2 separate regions of the Homo sapiens genome follow, and region 2 is linked to region 1. Evidence: promoter capture Hi-C in 16 types of primary human blood cells and fetal thymus (Javierre and others, 2016). All regions are on one chromosome and are shown on one strand. Each heading gives the region's core, a stretch centred on a gene start or on the middle of the fragment in contact. The rest is flanking DNA. Distances are from core to core; before and after follow the strand shown.

What was found. Contacts are between HindIII fragments. The CHiCAGO score rates a contact against its expected background, and 5 or more counts as called.
Region 2: the fragment with the promoter of ATL3 here is called in contact with the fragment with the promoter of PLAAT2 in region 1 in 3 of 17 cell types (naive B cells, total B cells and monocytes); the score reaches 7.7 in naive B cells.

The regions. Positions count from the first base shown.
Region 1 is chr11:63,560,530-63,566,243 of GRCh38, reverse strand. PLAAT2 (phospholipase A and acyltransferase 2) reads left to right here and starts at 2,865. Exons shown (of 4, transcript NM_017878.2): 1 at 2,865-2,928. The coding sequence starts at 2,920. RefSeq lists a silencer at 1,829-1,908. The HindIII fragment of the contact is 3,539 bases long and covers 1-2,956 here.
Region 2 is chr11:63,669,188-63,674,901 of GRCh38, reverse strand. It overlaps ATL3 (atlastin GTPase 3), which reads left to right and starts at 3,526. Exons shown (of 13, transcript NM_015459.5): 1 at 3,526-3,612. The coding sequence starts at 3,567. RefSeq lists enhancers at 3,010-3,119, 3,160-3,659, 3,660-4,161 and silencers at 3,210-3,329, 3,650-3,709, 3,740-3,999. The HindIII fragment of the contact is 2,416 bases long and covers 1,725-4,140 here.

The DNA.
Region 1 (5,714 bases), core at 1,616-4,115:
GCAGGCTAGAGACCCTGGAGACTCAGGAAAGGCAGTGGTATCATTCCGTCTGCGTCAAAAGACCTGGGAATCCAGGGAGCCGATAGAGTAAATCCCAGTATGAGGGCAGAAGATGAGGTGAGCTATCTCAACACAAGTAGTGAGGCAGACGAAAAGGGGACGAATTTCTCATTCCTCTAGCTTTGTTCTAATCAAGCCCTCAACAGATTGATGCTCCCCACTCACATAAGGGAGGGTCATCTGCTTCACCCATTCCACCAATTCAAATGCTGATCTCATCTGGAAGCACCTCAACAGACATGCCCAGACATCACACAGCATCTGGGCACCCCATGGCCCTGTCGGATTGACACAACAAATTAACCACCACGGCTGCTATGAACATCTGTGGACAGGTTTTTGTGGGACACAGGGCTTATTTAAGAAATTGGTTATTTTCTATTTCTTCAACTAGGTTTATTGGTACCTGTTTTGTTATTATTTCTAGTGTTTTATACTTATGTTGCAATTATTCTTCTATATGGATATAAGATTTAATAAAATCCTTTATTTATTTATTTATTTATTTCTGAGACATAGTCTCACTCTGTAACCCAGGCTGGAGGGCAGTGGCGTGATCTTGGCTCACTGCAACCTCTGCATCCCAGGTTCAATAGATTCTCCTGCCTCAGCTTCCCGAGCAGCTGGACTACAGGCGTGCGCCACCAAGCCCAGCTAATTTTTGTATTTTTAGTAGAGACGGGGTTTTGCCATGTTGGCTAGGCTGGTCTCGAACTTCTGACCCAAGTGATTCACCCACCTTGGCCTCCAAAAGTGCTGGGATTACAGGCATCAGCCACTGTGCCCGGCCAAAGCCCATTAAAATTATATGTAGCCCAAGATATTCCTGGCATGTACATAGAAAGATAACATTGCCTCTAGAAAGGGGAACTGGGTTGCTGGAGGCTGGAGGCTGGAGGTGGGGAGAATGGAGGCTTATCTTTCCTTTTATAGCCTTTTATACAATTAAACAAACATAGAGAGCGTGCATGTGAACAAAAATGTAAGTATTCCAGGCTGTAGGCCTAGAGCTTACCAGCAGGCTGGGTGTGGCCTGCCCTACCCTGTTCTCTGTCAGTAGAACTTTGTCACCTTTCCTGCTCAGCATGAACAGTAGGGAGACAGCAGAATTCTCATTCCACTGGCCCTTGATTTGCAGACTCTCCTTTCCTATAGCTCCTGGACATAATTTCCTGACACTCTGAACAGCTTGGATTCGGTGAAAAGCCACAAGCCCCAGCATGAGTACAGTGATGTTCCTCCCCAACTCCGCCCTGCATGGTCTGGTTGGTCATTGTGCCAACCCACCTGAGATCCTTTCAGCAGACAGCACGTGGAAGTCCTCCTGCCCCAGGAAACAGGGGTGTGATGTGGTTGCAAGGGGAGGGCAGGCATAGGAAGAACTGAGATTGCTGGACTGGAGGTCAGCCCCTAAAAAGATGATCAGCAAGCCTGAGTGGGACCGGCCCAGAGGTCTCTGGACAATGGGGCAGGAGATAATTAGCCAAGCCAACCCTACTGTCTCCCTCCAGAAGGAATACTTTGAAGATTGTCCCACTGCAACTCAGAGGAGAATGGAGTGGAGGTGCTGAGAGAGGCCGTCTCCATGGGAGCAAGACCACATGACCACGTGAGCTGAGGGAGTAGCTGGTCATGCAGAACTGCTGTGGCTCCCAAAGAGTTTTCCAGTTCTGGCTCCAGTCCATCTGCATCCCCACACTAAAGCTCTTTGTTTGTTTGTTTGTTTATAGCCTGAAGAGGGTAAGTTATTGGTCCTCGCCCCCATGCCCCACAGTGAGGATGCTCAGCTCCCCCCAGCCCCACCCACCCCTTCCTGTCCAGTTTGCTCAGGACCGGACAACTATATGTAGATGACAGAAGAGATACTTATTTGGAGCTTGGGTGAGATAAGCATGCAGGTGCCTCAAAGAAGCAACCTCTACACACCCAGTACTGGGTTTTGGTTTCCATTTGGTGTGGAATGAGTGTTTCTGAACTGTGGGTGAGAGGCAGAAAGGGGAGTGGTTTCTATACTGCTGTCCAAGCAGGCTCACTCTGTTTCCAGGGTAGAGGAATGTGCCTCCAATAATACGATTTTTCTAGGGCCATGGGGTTTGAGGTTGGTGGAAATGTTTGCCTGTCCCGGCAACCATCATTCCCAATTTGGAGGCATGAATCTCAGTCTCTCTGGGGCTCCTCTCTCCTTTTTGAAATTTTCCCCCATGGTCTCTGTCTCTATATCCTCCCTTGCCCCCACAACCACTGGATCTTGCTTGTTCCACCTGAAACTTGGTGATTGTCAGCTGTGCCCCTGACCACACTGCCACTAAGTCCTTCTCAATCTATATCCTGAGCTCTGATTCCTCTTCTGTCTGGCTGATTTTCATGCCGCCTTGCCTACTTGATATGTGCTCTGCCCCTGTTTGAAGACAGGGAAAATTTTACATGAACCTTGATCTATGTTCTGTTTTTTTTTTTTTTTTTTTTTTGACTGAGTCTCGCCCTGCCGCCCAGGCTAGAGTGCAGTGGCACGACCTCTGCTCGCTGCAAGGTCTGCCTACTGGGTTGACGCCATTTCCTGCCTCGGCCTCTGGAGTAGCTGGGACTACAGGTGCCCACCACCATGCCCAGCTAATTTTTTCTATTTTTTAGGAGAGACGGGGTTTCACCGTGTTAGTCAGGATGGTCTCGATCTCCTGACCTTGTGATCCTCCCGCCTCAGCCTCTCAAAGTGCTGGGATTACAGGTGTGAGCCACCGCACCCAGCCTATGTTCTGAAATAGTTGTATATGGGCTGGGTCACAGGGAAAGTGAAACTCAGAGCTAATTTAAGGCTGGACACAGAGTCAGCAACACACAAGACATCATCTTGAAGGAAGGATGGCTTTGGTAAGTCCCCAGAAACGGTTTTAAAGCTTTGATTTGAGGAACAACCACCCTATTAGTGATGATTATGTGTATTCTTGTTGGTCTACAGCTCTGGCATGGAGGGCACATGGGCACATGCTGAGTTCTGGGGGTCTGGCTCTCTCAGACACTGTGGGAAGGAACCACGGTGCTGGGTTATGACCCTGGAGGCTCCCCAGCCTCAGCTGCCGCATGGGGTCTGGTTCTACTGTGGCCAAAGTTTGCGTTTATGCTTTTCCAAGCCCTCCTCTGGCCAAACTACCAGTGGCTCTGCTAAGCCTCCTGAAGGCAGGAATGGTGGGCTCAGGGAGAGCAGCCCTTGGTTTACCCCACAGGCCGCCTCCTCTGTCACATCATCCTCAGTGGGAGGGATTAGCTGGGGAGGGAGGGTCCAGGGAAAGGGCTCCAGCTGTGTGGGTGGCAATGGGGGCTGTCAGAAAGGGCTCTGTCTCCCTCGCCTCCAGGCAGGGCCAGTCCCTCTACTTTCCCTCCTTCCCTCCAATTCCTTCTTAGTTTCCTTCTTCCTTTAGACCCAATAGCAGCCACATTTCCCAAGTGCTCAGGGGTCCAGACACCATGCTAAACACTTCTTTTATTTAATCCACACCAGGTAGTTAATAAGCAATCCTATGAAGTAGGCATAATTACTGCCAACTTCATGGATAGGAGGAATGATATACTGGTAAGTATAGAGAGGGGGCTGCCCAAAAGTCAGAGAGGGAATTCGAACTTAGGAGGCTCTGACTCTAAAGCTTCGACTTAAAAAAGAAAGAATGTATTTAATTCCAGGAGAAATACGTGAACACATTCACTTTGTCTGAAAAACCGAAACTCTAGCCTGGGCAACATAGTGAGATCCCATCCCTACAAAAAATATTAAAATTAGCCAAGGATAATGGTATGTGCTTATAGTCCTAGCTTCTTGGGAGGCTGAGGTGGGAGGATCACTTGAGCTGGGGAGGCTGAGGCTTCCTGCAGTGAGCTGTGATAGTGCCACTGCACTCCAGCCTGGGTGACAAAATGAGATCATGTCTCAAAAAAAGCCAAAAGCCAAAAACCAAAACTATTAGCATAAAAACTAATGTCCCCTTTGACCATCCTTCCCATCTGTACAGCCTTTCCCCTCTGTACAACCTGGTGCGTATTCTTCCAAATATTTTTCTGTTTTTGCATACATATATGGCTACCTTACAAGTATTGGTTTGTAGCTTTGGGGTTTGTTGTAGTTTTAAATTGCATTCCGTGAGGACAATTCAGTTAGGAAATGCTTGAATCTTTTCCTTTATTTACCAGCTTTTGGAATAATAGGGTGATTCTTTTCCATCCTCCAAAGATGCCTAGTGTTTTTAAAAAATATCCTTATGAACACGTGGGTTTTAACATATTTGATGTGTTTCAGTTTGTGTACAGTTATTTTTATTATTTTTTTTTGATGCTCAAATTGTCCCTTATTTGGTCAAGTTGACTCTTGACCCCTCTAGTCAAAGGCTTTACTTTTTTTTAAATTTCGAGGTTCTGGGGGGGAACATGTGGTATTTGGTTACATAAATTAGTTTTTAGTGGTGATGTCTGAGATTTTGGTGTACCTATCATCTCAGCAGTGTACTCGGTACCCAATGCGTAGTCTTTTTTTTTTTTTTTTTTTTTTTTTTTGTGATGGAGTCTCACTCTATCGCCCAGGCTGGAGTGCAGTGGCACGATCTCTGCTCACTGCAACCCCTGCCTCCCGGGTTCAAGCAATTCTCATGCCTCAGCCTCCCAAGTGGGTGGGATTACAGGCACCTGCCACTATACCCAGCTAATTTTAGTATTTTTAGTAGAGATGGGGGTTTCACCATGTTGGCCAGGCTGGTCTCAAACTTCTGACCTCAGGCAATCCACCCATCTCGGCCTCCTGAAATGCTGGGATTATAGGCGTGAGCCACCACACCCAGCCCCAGTGTGTAGTCGTTTATTCCTCACCCACTCCCACCCTTTTCCCTCAGTCTTCAGAGTCCGTTGTATGATTCTTATGCCTTTGCGTCCTCATAGCTTAGCTCCCACTTACGAGTGAGAACATAGGATGTTTGATTTTCCATTACTGAGTTATTTCACTTAGAATAATGATCTCCAATTCCATCCAAATTACTTCAAATGAAAGGCTTTACTTTTAACTATAGCTCCCCACCAGACTTTGAGTTGGCTGGCACTCTCACCACCCTCGGCAGCAGTTCAACTCCTTTGTGGCTTGGCTCAGCTGAGATAGGGGGAGGAGGGGTGCTGGCTGGCACCAGAGCATACCGGAAACAGAATTTATGTGGCAAGGGCTGTCTCCCATTCTGGGTGTGGCCAGGGCAACATTCCTCGCACCCATGCACCCTCCAGAGGGGCACTGCCCTACCACCAACTCCAAACACACCCTGCCATCCCTTGCTTTAATTTTAGCCTGAGCTCAGACTTCAGCTGCCCTGGGCTTGCCTAGGACATTCTGGGATGGTTAAAGGCATTAATGTTGGAAACATTCAGCCCTACCCTTCATTCCTGCTCTTCTACTTATTAGGCAAGTTACCTAACGTTCCTGAGACTCCATGTGCTCATTGTCAAGTGGGGGTAATGATAGTTTTCACCCAAAGGAGTGGTGTGTAATGTGGGTCAAGTGTCCGCCTGCCTCTGACATGTTGGGCGTTGCAAGTCAGACCTCTAGAACTTGTAGGAATCACTTGGGCCCAGGCTCATGGCAGGTGGCCCTTAAAGAGGCATTTTAGGCTTCCTTCGGAATCATGCAGTCA
Region 2 (5,714 bases), core at 2,277-4,776, 110 kb before region 1:
CCAGGCTGGTCTTGAACTTGTGACCTTAAGTGATCCATATGCTTCAGACTCCCAAAGTGCTGGGATTACAGGCATGAGCCACTGTGCGCTGTCCCCCGCCCCCACTTTCTTTCTTTCTTTCTTTCTTTTTTTGGAGGTAGGGTTTGCTCTGTTGCTCAGGCTGTAATGCAGTGCTACAATTATGGCTCACTGCATCCTCTACCTCCTAGGCTCAAGCAATCCTCCCACCTCAGCCTCCCAAGTAGCTGGGACCACAGGTACCCCACCATACCTGGCTAATTTATTTGTTTATTTTTGGTAGACATGGGATCTCCCTATGTTGCCCAGACCGTTTTGTTTGTTTGTTTGTTTGTGACAGAATTTTGCTCTTATTGCCCAGGCTGGATGCAATGGCAGGATCTCAGCTCGCTGCAACCACTGCCTCCCGGGTTCAAGAGATTCTCCTGCCTCAGCCTCTGGAGTAGCTGGGATTACAGGTGCCTGCCACCACTCTTGGCTAAGTTTTTGTATTTTTAGTACAGACGGGATTTCACCATGTTGGCCAGGCTGGTCTCCAACTCCTGACCTCAGGTGATCCACCTGCCTCGGCCTCCCAAAGTGTAGGGATTACAGGTGTGAGCCACTGCCCCCAGCCCCCAGACTGGTCTTGAACTCCTGGGCTCAAGAGATCCTCCCAGTTAGACCGCTGTGCTGTTGGCTGAAATACCAATAATGAAGTAGCTGACAAGGTCTTAAGCTTTCAGTATGTTACCATGTTGAGGACCTAATATTCAACTTTATAAGACCCTATCAAGTGGGGTTGGCTATTTTCTTTTTACAAATGAAGATGCCAAATCATTACCCCATTTTACACACATGCAAAATAAGGTATGGAAATTTAAATGATGCCCAGGGATGTAGTATTCCAACTTGTCCCTTCCAAGTTGCTTAAATAATGATCCTGCACATAGAGGGCAGAAAGCTGAACTGTGTCCCAGTACAGTCACAGTGAATGATATTTCCTCAGCTGTCTATCCCACAGGACTGCGAGTCTCTGGAGGATAGGAATGTGTCTTATGCAGCATTATGGCCTATCACGGTACCTGGCATATAACAAATGACCTATTTTTGGAAAGCTTTGGAACCTGAGTCATGGTGGATGCCATTGCAGAAAACAATTTTGCTATTTTTGTGTTTCATAAACCACTTGAGTATCTTGAATATTTATGACTTTATTTTGCTTTTCCAGAATGAATATGCTGATTACTAATTTTGATCACTAACCACGCAGTCATCATTTCCAAACACACAGCTCACTTAGCCTAGAACAACCGTGTGGGTCTTTAAATCATTTTGCAGATGATGAAATGGATTCAGAGAGGTTAAGTAGCTCGCCCAAGGTTGCATAGCTAGTGAACATCAGAGCCAGGTAAGTCTGACCCCAAAGCCAGTAGTCTGTCCACTCAAATATGTCTACATGTCACCTACTTCTGGAAAACCTCAAGGGAAGCTCAACCTCTGATCATAGCACATAACTCAATTCAGAGTGAGATAGCTGAAGGCAGGCTGTAACCAGTATTGTCAATATTTGGCACTTTCAATGTCCAGTGTTTTGATGACCCTGGATATTTGAGAAGGAAATAACACAAAACATGTTTCTCATTTACAGGGGTTGCTTTCTAAGTTGTGACTAATCCTTAAGTCCACCTATAATTTGTACTGTTTTGTTCCAAATGCCAAAAGCTTCTACAAGGGCTACAATGCTGATGTGCTAACATTGACCTTGATACCTTGATGATGTAATATTGAGACATATATCAGTATTTGCTGGTCACTTCCTGAGAAGTTGGATTTCAGTGAATCTCTGGGGAGCCCTTAAAATAAACTAGGGTATTTTGTTCAATAGTAAAAGTTAGGTATTTAATATTAAAGGAACCAGAAAGTGAGTGAGCAGTGTTAGATGTAACATATATCTTCTTCATCCATTAATTCAATAGATATTTGAGTCTCTATTATCTGCCAGCAGTATTTAGGGACTGGGGATATACAAGTAAACAAAACAGACAAAAATTCCTATCTGTTTGGAACTTACATTCAGTGGGAAGAGACAAACACAATGAAAGGTAAAACATAAGTCAGATAGTAGCAGGAAGTCTTTTTTTTTTTTTTTTTTTTTGAGATGGAGTCTTGCTCTTTCTCCCAGGCTGGAGTGCAGTGGTGCCATCTCCACTCAATGCAACCTCTCCTGCCTCAGCCTCCCGAGTAGCTGGGATTACAGGCGCCTGCCACCACGCCTGGTTAATTTTTTGTATTTTTAGAAGAGATGGGGTTTCACCATGTTAGCCTGGCTGGTCTTGAACTCCCGACCTCAGGTGATCCAACCACCTCAGCCTCCCAAAGTGCTGGGATTACAGGCGTGAGCCACCGCGCCTGGCCAAGTGGTATGAAGTCTTTTGGAGAAAAGTAATGCAGGGAAAAGGAGCAGAGAATGCTGGGATGTGCGTGCAAGTTTTTTTTTTTTTTTTTTGATGGAGTTTTGCTCCTGTTGCCTACGCTGGTGTGCAATGGTGCGATCTCGGCTCACTGCAACCTCCGCCTCCTGGGTTCAAGCGATTCTCCTGTTCAGCCTCTGGACTAGCTGGGATTACAAGCGTGCGCCACTACGCCTGGCTAATTTCGTATTTTTAGTAGAGACGGGGATTCTCCATGTTGGTCAGGCTGGTCTCGAACGCCCACGACCTCAGGTGATCCACCCGCCTCGGCCTCCCAAAGTGCTGGGATTACAGGCGTGAGGCACGGCGCCCGGCCTGGACTTCTTACATTAGCTATCAGAGCGGTGATGGTGCGCATCAGCCATGGCCAGGGACAGGAATATAGGGAGATGATAATAAAGGTGGTAATGAAGTCACGGCCACCTGCCCTTATGAAGTCAAAATCATTAAAGACCCAGTGACGTTCATGCCATCCAGGGTTGAGGCCTCTCTTCTGCCCACCTGTGGTCCCAGGCCTAGTTAAACACCAAAGCTGTCTCTCACACTGGTGGTTCCAGGATAAAGCCTCGGCCTGGGGCCTGGTCTGCACGTTAGGCGCCGGCCGCAGCTCGCAGGAGGACCCGAGCCAGCCCGCCCCTTCCCGCACAGCCTGCTGGGAGTTGTAGTTCAGTCGTCGGAGAACCACGCCAAGCCCCGCCCCAGATGAGTGCGCAGTATGAGGACCGCTGGCCGGGACCCAGTGAGCGCGGGACTACAATTCCCAAAGGACGGTAGCACTCAGCGCCCCGCCAACAGGTACCCGGCGGCTCGCTTCGCGCACACGCGGCAGGCGGTGGCGGGATTCTGCCGCGTGCGCTTTCCCGCCCCGCCTCGCCTAGCCTCGTCCTGCGCTCGCCACGCCTCGGGCTGTCCGTTGGGCCACGCAGACCGCGCTGCGCTCGCTCCGTCGCGGCTCCGCGTGCCCCACCTTCTGGCTAGTTTTTTCTAGAGCCCAGGCTCCGCCCGTTTCCCGCTTCCAGGGCCCGGTTCGTTCCCGCCCGCACCCGTCCCTCTCCTCTGCACCCCTGCTGCTTCTGCTTTGAAGGCGGAGGCTCCATGTTGTCCCCTCAGCGAGTGGCAGCAGCTGCCTCAAGAGGAGCAGGTGAGGCGCCGATTTTCCCTGGATCGCCCCGCGGCCACCCCCGCCGCCTTCCCTGCTGTAGTTCTGAAAAGAACCCCCGCCCGCGCCGCCGCCCTTCCTCGTCCCGGGGCTGGGACCGCGCGTCCCTCGCCGGGGTCACTCGGTTTCCGAATTTGTGGTGGGGGGGCCCCTCTTCGGGCCCAGCTGGTCCAGCGAGGGCGGCACCTTCCTTACTTTTCGGCCGGGGGCGGCCGCCGTCAGGGCTCGGGCCCTGGTGCCGCCGGGGGCTCCTCCAGCTCCTCCCCTGGGCTGCAGCTGCCCCTGGGCGGCCCAAGGGCCGGTGGTCCCCGTGGGCGGCGTCCGGAGCTTCGGCCCCGCCGAGCCCCGCCCTGGGCAGAGCCGGGCGCCCCAGGGCGCTGCCCCTCCGTGCCCGGGCACTCAGCGCCCTCTCTGGTCGGAGAATCGGGGCCTGGATGGAGCGGGAAGGTGAATGCTGGTTTATTTGGCCTTTCTGGAAGTGCTGGAAGGCTGCGAAGTGTCTTGGAAGCTTTATTTTTATCCTAACGACCTTGAGGCACTGACCACAAGTATTAGGAAAGTTGGTTTTCAACCCATACTTAACGCTGTAAAGAATTGGTCTAAATTGGTTTTTCGTAAGTTAGTGCTTTTGGCACAGTACGTTGTTCTTTTGCTTTCCCGAAGACATGAAACATAGTGAAAGTATTAAAAACCAAATAAGGAGTCACCGTGTATTCACGGATCTGATTTAGTCTGTCATTTTACTTGGCTTTATTCTAGTGTAATGTGTGTGCTGTTGAAATGACCGTTTCACTTGCGAAATCGAAGAGCAAAAAGGAAAAGAACAGTGAAGAATTTTTAAATGAGTCTCAGTTCTCAAATTCAAATACGAAGCAATGGAACGTTTTGTCAGTCTTAGAATAACGGACCAAAAATGTACGATTTCACATATTGGCTTACTTTTGGAGATTTAAGAAGCATAACCTACGGAGTACTAATCCCTGTCAAGAATTTAGCATTGCAACATAGGTACTGAAATTCAAATTAGTGCTTTTTTTTTTCCATTCCCACAGAGATTAGCTTGTACTCCAGAAATTCCTGTTGCCGCTCTAACACCTGTAAACACTTGGCTGAGAAGGATCTCAGTATTGCAGTAGTCCAGCACATTGTTTTATTATTATTTTTTGAGACGGAGTTTTGCTCTGGTCACCCAGGCTGGAGTGCAATGGCGCGATCTCGGCTGATTGCAACCTCCGCTTCCTGGGTTCAAGCAATTCTTCTGCCTCATCCTCCCGGGTAGCTGGGATTACAGGCGCTCTCCACCATGCGCGGCTATTTTTTTTTGAGACGGAGTTTCGTTTTTGCTACCTAAACTGGAGTACAGTGGCGCAGTCTCGGCTCACTGCACCCTCCGCCTCCTGGGTTCAAATGATTCTCCTGCGTCAGCCTCCCGAGTAGCTGGGATTATAGACATCCGCCACCAGGCCCAGCTAATTTTTTGTATTTTTAGTAGAAACGGGGTTTCACCACGTTGGCCAGGCTGGTCTCGAACTCCTGACCTCAGGTGAACCACCCTCCTCTCCTCGGCCTCCCAAGTACTGGGATTACAGGCGTGAGCCATCGTGCCCGGCCCATTATTGTATTAGCTACAGTTTACTACCTCATTGTAGTAGAATTCATGAAATAGAAGTAACGGGATAGATGTGGTGTTGTGTACTAGCTTAATTTTCTTTTTCTTTTCTTTTTTTTTCTTCTGGTGAGAAGGAGTCTTGCTCTCTCGCCCAGGGTGGAGTGCAATGGCGCGATCTCTGCTCACTGCAACCTCCGCCTCCCAGGTTCAAGCGATTCTCCTGCCGCAGCCTCCCAGGTAGCTGGGATTACAGGCGCCCTCCACCGCGCCTGGGTAATTTTTGTATTTTTAGTAGAGACGGGGTTTCACCATGTTTGCCAGGCTGATCTTGAACTCCTGACCTCAGGTGATCCTCCTAGCTCGGCCTCCCAAAGTGCTGGGATTGCAGGTGTGAGCCACGGCGCCTGGCCCAGTTGCGTGGTATTTCGATTGTCAGAACACCTTAGATATATTTCACAGCTGAAGTATGTTAACA